Linked DNA regions of Homo sapiens: all the other regions are linked to region 1. Evidence: promoter capture Hi-C in human tissues and cell types (Jung and others, 2019). All regions are on one chromosome and are shown on one strand. Each heading gives the region's core, a stretch centred on a gene start or on the middle of the fragment in contact. The rest is flanking DNA. Distances are from core to core; before and after follow the strand shown.

The links. Contacts are between HindIII fragments. The study calls those that stand out against the background at their distance.
Region 2: a contact is called between the fragment with the promoter of SH3BP1 here and a fragment that was not itself captured in region 1, in 1 of the 25 tissues and cell types used here (spleen).
Region 3: a contact is called between the fragment with the promoter of LGALS2 here and a fragment that was not itself captured in region 1, in 1 of the 25 tissues and cell types used here (dorsolateral prefrontal cortex).

Annotation. Positions count from the first base shown.
Region 1 is chr22:37,155,498-37,158,566 of GRCh38, forward strand. It overlaps a transcript of IL2RB not described here. Among named protein-coding and RNA genes, the nearest start is that of IL2RB, 7.1 kb to the left of the region's middle. The HindIII fragment of the contact is 5,288 bases long and covers 1-3,069 here.
Region 2 is chr22:37,638,419-37,641,487 of GRCh38, forward strand. It overlaps SH3BP1 (SH3 domain binding protein 1), which reads left to right and starts at 1,251. Exons shown (of 18, transcript NM_018957.6): 1 at 1,251-1,428; 2 at 2,708-2,750; 3 at 2,956-3,060. The coding sequence starts at 1,370. RefSeq lists silencers at 1-218, 849-998, 1,029-1,468. The HindIII fragment of the contact is 22,988 bases long and covers 1-3,069 here.
Region 3 is chr22:37,578,480-37,581,548 of GRCh38, forward strand. LGALS2 (galectin 2) reads right to left here and starts at 1,608. Exons shown (of 4, transcript NM_006498.3): 1 at 1,421-1,608. The coding sequence starts at 1,426. RefSeq lists a silencer at 1,935-1,994. The HindIII fragment of the contact is 22,309 bases long and covers 1-3,069 here.

The sequences.
Region 1 (3,069 bases), core at 570-3,069:
TCTCACTCTGTCAGGGCTTTGTGCATGCTGAGCCTGCTCTTCCCTTGCCATTTTACAGGCCAGGAAACCAGGCCTCATGAGTCATCCTACCAGAATGTGGCAGAGCCAGGATTAGAACCTAGGTCTGTCCCAGAGGACATCCGATTCTCTCTGAGGCAACCTGAGATGTAATCCAGAAGCTTCTCTGATGGCAGAGCCCTGACAGAGCCCACTCGGGCCTACCCAGACCTGGGTCTCAGGAGTGCTGGGGTTTGGACCCAGCCTCCTCCACGAGCTCCACGCCTTGCTCCTATAACTACTTCTCTTACGTCTTCCACATCCCCACCTGACCCTCTGCGCTGCATCTTCATGGGTCCCACTGGGAACAAACCGCCTCATACCCTCTGTTTCCATGCACCCAGTCCCACAGCCCTCCCACCACTGGACCCAGACCCCTCTTTCACAGGGGCCATGGGACAAGGGCATATTGGGGTCTTCCAGCCCTGATGTCCTTGGGCTGTCTTTTTTGGGGCCAAGCCAGACTGCATCCTCCTCAGTCCTGGTATCTGCCAAACGCCCTACCCGTCCTCCCTCTGCTCACTGGAGTGCTTGGCCCTTGCGCTCAGCCTCCCTCTCCACTCCGCCTCCCAGGAGATGTCAGGGTCCACACTGTAGCCTCCAGCCTCCTGTTCCCTCTGAACTGCTCCATACCAGTCCCACACCCAGGCCTGCACTTGCACCCTGCCATCATTCTGACCTGTGTTAACCAAGACCCCTTGAACTTCCACCTCAGCTCACCCGCGTGCTGCCATCACCGCCTCCACTGTACAACAGTGTCCCAGTTAGGATGAAGTTCAGCTGCGTGTGTCCAAAGAGAACAGAAGAAGAAAACAGTGACCTAAAATAAGAGAGGGCTTTATTTCTCTCTTACATAAAAGAAGTCCAAAGGGAGGCCACCCAGGCTAGGTGGGGTGGCTTTATGATGTCAGGATCCTGAGCTAAATCTGGCTTGCTACTAGGGTCTCTTCAATATCCTTCTCCCATCTCCTCATAGACCAAGAGAGCTATTCAAGCTCCACCCATCACCTCTGCGTTCCTGCAGATGGAAGGGAAAGGAAGGAGAGAGGGAGGGCTTGCCTCTGCCTGTTAAGGACCCTTCCCCAAAGCTGCCGTAGCCACTTCTAATGTACATCCCATTGGCTACGCCTGAGTCACATAGCCAACCAAGCTGCAGAGGAGGCTGGGAGATGTAGCCAGCTATAAGTAGAGGGCACACGGGCAGGGGAGAGCAGGTTTGGGGGTGCCATTCACTGTCTCTGCCACCGCCTGTCCTCTGCCATTGTGAAGACCTCCAGTATCTCCAGGGCCACCTCCCTTCCTGCCCTCCCTGGCTCAGCCAGCTGACACTGTCACCCACCCTCAAGTCCTTGTGTTCCGCCCACCCCTGCTCGGTGCTGTGACCTGTCTTCTGGAAAGTCAGCAGGTAGCCGAGTCCCCAGCTGGAAAAAAAGTCCTGCCCCCACAGTGCCAGGCCTCACCAGTGACCTGGTTTTGAGTCCTGGTCCCTGGTCAGGAGGACTATGGTATACATAATTTGGTGTCTGACCCTCCGCCCAGTCCCCATCAGACTGTGGGGTACCCCTCATGACAAATGAGGATCACAAAGCTGCAGGGGCCCACAGAGGGGCCAGAGCAGAACAAGGAGAAAGAGCAGGCTAGCGGCCGACTTCCTGAGGGCTGTCCTCCGAGCATGCCCCTCTGCTGACACCTGCTCTTCACTGGAGGCGCCCCACCCACCAGTCCCCAAGACAGACTGTGGCCATTCTCCCTGACTCCTTCCCTCCCTCACCCCCTCCTTCCAAGCCATCACCCTTACTTCTGCTTTGCCACAGCAGCCACCTCCACGCCAGCCCCCCAGGCTCCAGACCTGAAGCCCCACGTTCTTCCCTGTTCATCCGGGAGCTGCCTGCTTCATAGCCACACCAGCACCAGCGCCCTGAGCAGCTCCTATCTTGTGCAAACCATGCCATTCCTTACCAGGATCGCGCCAAGGTGACCAGCTGTCCCACTGTGCCTGGGACTGAGGGGGGTTTCCAGAACATAAGATTTACAGTGATATTCCTAGGACAAAGTTGGTCACCATATTCCCACCCTACTTACTCAGACTAATCAGCTCCCCGATTTAAAACCAGTCCTTCCCTGATCTCCAATTCTGGCCAAGGCAGATTCTGGGCACAAGCCAGTTACCATATCTCATGTCAGAGCCTTGCTTATGAGTCTACACCAGGAGCTCTTGGACAACAGGAACAGTGTGGGATTCATCCACACCACTCCAGAACCCAGAAAATTACCTGACATACGGACAGTGTCAATATGAGGGGAAGGAAGGAAAAAAGGAAAAGAGAAAGAATCAAAAGTGCTAAGTCCCTAATACCCTGAAGAGTCCTGAGAATACACATTAAAAACACCAGGATAGCATATTTGAAGTTTCAAAAGCTTTGCCATCAAAGGCAGGTTGAAAAGGCGAGTCACCCTGCTGGCGTGGGCTTCAAGCATCTCCCTGGAAGGCAATCTGACATCTACCAACATCTCTGACACATGACCCAGCAATTCCACACCTAAAACTCATCAACAGAGTGACCCATGTTGAACACGTGTGTACAAAGTAACTCCTGCAGTCACGGGACCCGAGGCCAACAAAATGCGCATCCATAGGGGACAGGTGATGAGCAAATTAGGGAACTTCCATCCAGTGGAATGCCACGTAGCTATGCCAAGATAGGAAGGGGAGGGCTGGGCGCGGTGGCTTATGTCTGTAATCCCAGCACTTTGGCAGGCTGAGGCGGGCGGATCACGAGGTCAGGAGATCGAGACCAGCCTGGCCAACATGGCAAAACCACGTCTCTACCAAAAATAAAAATTAAAAAAAAATTAGCCGGGCGTGGTGGTGGGCACCCCGTAGTCCCAGCTATTCAGGAGGCTGAGGCAGAAGAATCACTTGAACCCGGGAGGCAGAGGTTGCAGTGAGCCAAGATTGCGCAACCGCACTCGAGCCTGGGTGACTGAGCAAGACTCCGTCTAAAAAAAATA
Region 2 (3,069 bases), core at 1-2,500, 480 kb after region 1:
CAATGAGTCCTGCCTCATTAGGGAGGAGAGAAGCAGCCAGTGAGTGTGCCAGGCCCTGGGCTAGGTGCTGGGAGTATGGAGATGTGTGGGGCCAAGGTCCTGCCTCTGAGAGGCGCCCAGTCTGCACCGGCACACAGTCTGCACCGGCACACAGTAGTGGCTCAAATAGTCTCAAACTAAACTGAAACTAACAAAGCAAAGTGCAGAGGGTGTGGCAGGACTCTGGGGCACACCCTCCCCTCTTCCCCACGCCTGCGGCTCCTGATGCCACAGGGGTGCAGGGTAAGGAGAGCCTACTGTTTCCTAAAGGCGCTCACATCTTGTAAAACCAGCAGTTATGGAGCACTTACTGTATGCCTAACTCTGTGTTGAGTGGAGGGCCAAAGAGGAGAACTACTGAGTTTGGGGGCAGTCAGAGCAGCACCTACATCATTGCCCTACAAGAAGGAAGGGGGACTGAGGCTGTTTGCCAGGAGGAATGAGAGGAGACGGGCTTCACAGATGGAGCAAACTGCCAGGAGATGTGGAGAACAGGGTGTCGCGAACCGCTCTGGGAGGGTTCCTGGTGGCTGAGGGGTGGCACGCACCTCCCTTAAAGGGAGCTGGCAGGGGTGTCTTGTCCACTCTGCAGAATGGGCAGGCCCAGGACAGCTGGCCCATCAGACCATTAGAAACAGCGAGTCCGGAGTTCCAGGGGCTTGTCCACGGCCACACAGCAGCCCGTGGCCCCAGGAAGCCAAAGCTCCCAGCCAGTCATCCAGTGGTGGGGGGTTTAGTTCCAGGGGGCCAGAGGTCCTCTGCGGAAGAGAGTGCAAGGCAGTATCCGCGGCAGGCCCAGAGAGGCCAGGACAGGTCAGAAAGGCCTACCCCTCTTTCGCTTGGTACCCTTTCCTCTTTGCGAGGGATGCAAAGGTTATTTATACTTCGGGTCTGCAGGCTGCGGGTGGGGCAGGCACCCCGCCTGGGGCGGGTTGCGGGCGCAGGGGCAGGAATGGGCTTACCTGCTTCCCGCCACCGGGGCTGGGCGGGGCGCTGCGGGGAGGAGGAGCCGGGCACAACCTGTGGACGGCCGCGGCCGGCGGACACACAGCAGCGGGGGCCCGGCCGGGGGTCGCCCGGGGGCCCGGAAGCCGGGGAAGAGCGAGGAAACCAACTTGGAGAGAGGAGTGACCTGGGGGCCGGGGGCGGAGTCGTGAGCGGGGGAGGAGAGAGCCGGCCGCCAGCAAGAGCCGCGCGGCGGCCCAGGAAGCGAGAGCGCCGCCCACCCATCCGGGGCAAGAGCCGCGCCGCAGGAGAGGCAGGCTGGACCGGGGGCTCCCCGGGCCCGCGACCCCCGCCGTGACCCCGCAGCCCCCAGCTCGCCCCCAAGATGATGAAGAGGCAGCTGCACCGCATGCGGCAGCTGGCCCAGACGGGCAGCTTGGGACGGTGAGTGTCACCCGCTTCCAGCCCCACTCTTACCCCGGCAGGACTTGAGGGGTCGTAAAAGGGTCGGGGGAGACGGGGGTGGGGGAGGCTGGGGACAGCTGGGCAGCCACCCTCTGAGCGGCCAGACTCCTGCTCTCTCTTCCTCCTCTCTGAACGCCGCCCCCGTCTCTCGGGCAGAGCTGGAGGAGCAAGGGTGGCCTTTGGGGGAAGGGATGCCCCCCCTTACCGGATTGGAGGGGGCTTCAGGCGGGAGAATGCTCTCTGCCCTAGGACGCTGGGACTTCTCTGCCTCCACGAGTCTCTAAGTGGATGGTCCTCCTGACCTCACTTGTCCCCTCTGGACAATGGGACAGTTCACCACCTCTGCTTGCTGGGCCGGGGAGGGAGGAGGGTCGATTAGGGCCACAGACCTGGGGCGAGGGGAGGAGATGGGTCCTGGCCTGGTGGGAGGAGGGGCCTGCCCCTGGCCTGCAGCGTCCCTCCCCCTCCCCCTCCCCCCAGCCCAGGGGCCTCCTGCTTCTGTCTCGTTTCTGCTTTTCCTGGACTCAGGTGGAAATATCCCCAGGTCTCCCAGCTCCCACCCCCAGCCTCTGAGCCGGTGGCACGGAGGCCGGAAGTTTGGGGAGCCTCTCAGAGCCTGTCTTCTCTGCTCCTCTTCCCCCAGCCTCAGGAGTTCCCCATTCTCTGGGTCCAGGGAGGGGACTGGGTGTCCAGAGACCTGGTTCTAGTCTCACACTGGCACAGATGCCTACATAGCCTGGACAGTCAGACCACCTTGCAGTGGGCCTTGGCATCCCCCATGTGTCCCCAGGTGGGGGCCAAGGGCCTGTGCACCCCTGCCCACAGCTGTAGTCCAGAGTGCTGTGTGACTGTGCCTAGGAGTCTGAGCTCCTGCACTTCCCGTTCTTGGGGCCAGCTAATACTCCTCATCCCGGGGTGGGCTGAGGATTTGGGAGTGGGCAGAAAAGAGGCTTCTGTGTCCCAAAGCTGGGCCCCGGGTGGGTCTCTCAGCCTCCCCTTTAGTTTCATCTGTCCGCCCTCTCTCAGGACACAGCCCTGGGTGGAGGAGGAAAAACCCATGTATCCTATTCCCACCCCCATGGAATGTGCTCCGACTGGGATGAAGCAACTGGGCCACCCAGGGCAGGCCTCAGCTGGGAGGGACAGTGGAAGCACTGGGGTCCAGGTGCCCTGCTGCGGGGAAGGGAAGTAGGGGGCGTTCTAACCCAGGCAGGCTCAGCAGAAGCACTCTCCCCCCCCCCCCCACCACTCCCCGCAGCACCCCGGAGACCGCTGAGTTCCTGGGTGAGGACCTGCTGCAGGTACGTGCCTGGGCCGGGCAGGTGGGAAGGCAGGCCTGTGCAGGCTGTCTCGGAGCAGAGGGCCGGGGCGGGGACGCCAGGTAGGGGCCTGGGTTGAGTCATTCCTCAAGCTGTTGGCCATGGGGTCCCCAGGGGACAGGAGAAAGTTTCCTGCTCAGGGGGAGACAGCCTCTCTTGATCCTTAACCTCCATACCTCCTTCCCAGGTAGAACAGCGGCTGGAGCCGGCCAAGCGGGCAGCCCACAACATCCACAAGCGGCTGCAGGCCTGTCTGCAGGGCCAGAGCGGGGCAGACATGGACAAGCGGGTGGTGAGTGGG
Region 3 (3,069 bases), core at 358-2,857, 420 kb after region 1:
CTCACTATATTGCCCAAGCTGAGATTTTTTTTTATCTCTATAAAGATCAATGGAGGCCAGGCACAGTGGCTCACACCTGTAATCTCAGCACTTCGAGAGGCCAAGGCAGGAGGATCCCTTGAACCCAGGAGTTTGATATCAGCCTGAGCAACATAGTGAGACCTCATCTCTACGAAAAATAAGAAATAAGCTGGGTGGGGTGGCTCACACCTGTAATCCCAGCACTTTGGGAGGCCAAGGTGGGCGGATCACCTGAGGTCAGGAGTTCGAGATCAGCCTGACCAACATGGTGAAACCCTGTCTCTACTTTAAAAATACAAAAATTAGGCCAGGAGCAGTGGCTCACACCTGTAATCCCAGCACTTTGGGAGGCCAAGGCAGGTGGATCACCTGAGATCAGGAGTTCAAGACCAGCCTGACCAACATGGAGAAACCCCATCTCTACTAAAAATACAAAATTAATCGGGTGTGGTGGCCCATGCCTGTAATCCCTGCTACTCAGGAGGCTGAGGCAGGAGAATCGCTTGAACCTGGGAGGTGGAAGTTGTGGTGAGCCGAGATCGTGCCATTGCACTCCAGCCTGGGCAACAGAAACTCCATCTCAACAAAAAAAAAAAAATTAGCCAGGTGTGGTGACACATACCTGTAATCCCAGCTACTTGGGAGGCTGAGACCAGAGAATTGCTTGAACCCAGGCAGCAGAGGTTGCAGTGAGCTGAGATCGGGCCACTGCACTCCAGCCTGGGCAACAGAGCGAGACTCCATCTCAAAAAAAAAAAAAAAAAGAGAAAGAAAAGAAACAAACAAAATTAGCCAGTGTGGTAGTGAGTGCCTGGGGTCCCAGCTACTCAAGAGGCTGAGGTGGGAGGATCATTTAAGCCAAGGAGGTCAAGTCCGTAGTGAGTTATGATTGCCACCACTGCACTCCACCTGGTGACAGAGCAAGATGCTGTATTGTTGTTGTTGTTTTGAGATGGAGTCTCACTCTTGTTGCCCAGGCTGGAGTGCAATGGCACAATCTCGGCTCACCATAACCTCTGCCTCCCAGGTCCAAGTGATTCTCCTGCCTCAGCCTCCCCATTAGCTGGGATTACAGGCATGTGCCACCAGGCCTAGCCAATTTTGTATTTTTTTAGTAGAGACGGGGTTTCTCCATGTTGGTCAGGCTGGTCTCAAACTCCCAACCTCAGATGATCCACCAGCCTCGGCCTCCCAAAGTGCTGGGATTACAAGCAGGAGCCACCACGCCTGGCCCAAGATGCTGTTTTTTAAAAAAAGACCTCTGTCCAACTTCTTTGCTGCACAGATGGGGAAACTGAGGCCCAGAGAGGGACAGCAATGGTTTTCCCTAAAAGCCCCCACCCAGGCAAAGACAAAGATGAACAGAGTGGGGCAGGCAGCAGGGGGCTAGTGTCCTCACCGTCATGGTGACAGCTCCTGGCGGCAGCTCCCAGCGGCTCCTGGAGGCCTGTGCTCAGGGTCTCAACTCGTGGTCAAGCTTATATCCTAGAATATTACACATTAACTCCCTCAAGGTCCTAGGTGAGGACTTTGCCCCTTCTACCTTGTGTCTCCCCGCCTGCATCTCCCAGTACCCAGCACAAACAGGCAGAAGACTCCTCAGCCAGCTCCACCCCACCCAGCCCGGAGCATCCTCCTGGCCTCCCTCCAGCCCAGCCTCCCCCTCCTCAGCGCTCCCAGAGCCCGAGAGGGGAAGCAGCCCCAGCTCTGCCCCCACACAAACCGCAATGCAGCCGCTTGACAGCTCTCCCAGCCTCCCTCACTTAGCCCAGCTTCCTTGCCTGTAAAAAGAGAGATTTGCTTTGCAAAAAAAAAAAAAAGTCTAGGTTTCTAATTTTCTTTTTTTTTTTTTTTTGAGACAGAGTCTCACTCTGTCACCCAGGCTGGAGTGCAGTGGCAACGATCTCCGCTCAATGCAATCTCCTGGGTTCACACCATTCTGCTGCCTCAGCCTCCCGAGTAGCTGGAACTACAGGCACCCGCCACCATGCCCGGCTAATTTTTTGGTATTTTTAGTAGAGACGAGGTTTCACCGTATTAGCCAGGATGGTCTCGATCTCCTGACCTCGTGATCTGCCCACCTTGGCCTCCCAAAGTGCTGGGATTACAGGCGTGAGCCATTGCGCCTGGCCTAAGGTTCTAATTTTCTATGATGTTATGATTCATTGTCAGAGAGCATTATGTTTTCTTCTTCCCTCCCCATATTATTTATCTGATCGGACATGTAGGTTTCAAAACCAATACACGGATTCAAAGAAAAGATTTCAAACTATTTACAACAAATGGTCAAAAGCAGAGGAGAGCTGGGCGCGGTTGCTTAAGCCTGTAATCCCAGCACTTTGGGAGGCCAAGGCAGGCGGATCACCTGAAGTCAGGAGTTTGTGACCAGCCCGGCCAACATGGTGAAACCCCATCTCTACTAAAAATACAAAAATTAGCTGGGCGTGGTCGCACCTGTAGTCACAGCTGCTCAAGAGGCTGAGGCAGGAGAATCGCTTGAACCCGGGAGGTGGAGGTTACAGGGAGCTAAGATCGCGCCACTACACTCCAGCCTGGGCGACAGAGTGAGGCTCCGTCTCAAATAAAAAAATAAAAAATAAATAAAAGTGCAGAAGGAGTGGGAGGGCTGAGTGGGGGACATGGAGGATGAAAATGCTTTGCTCTTGACTTCTGTTACTTATGTAACTGGCATGCTTACTATAGACAATTAGAGATATTAAATAAAAAGAAAAATAATCACTCATAATGCCACCGCCACGAGGGAACTGGCTTACGCTGTTGGCACATTTCCTTCCAGGCGGTTCTCCACAGATTTACATTATAGACACCCCTCTGTCTGTGCAATTGTTTATCTCTCTTCATTTGGGAAACATTAAAGACCACAAATCTATATTTCAGAACCATACTTTAATGCCTGCGAAATAGTCTACCTTTCAACGACTGAATTTATTTAACCAATTTCCTTCTGCTGAACACTCACATTAATTCTACATTTTTGCTATTAAAAATACTGCTGCATTAAATCTATTTGGACATAAACTTTGGCTG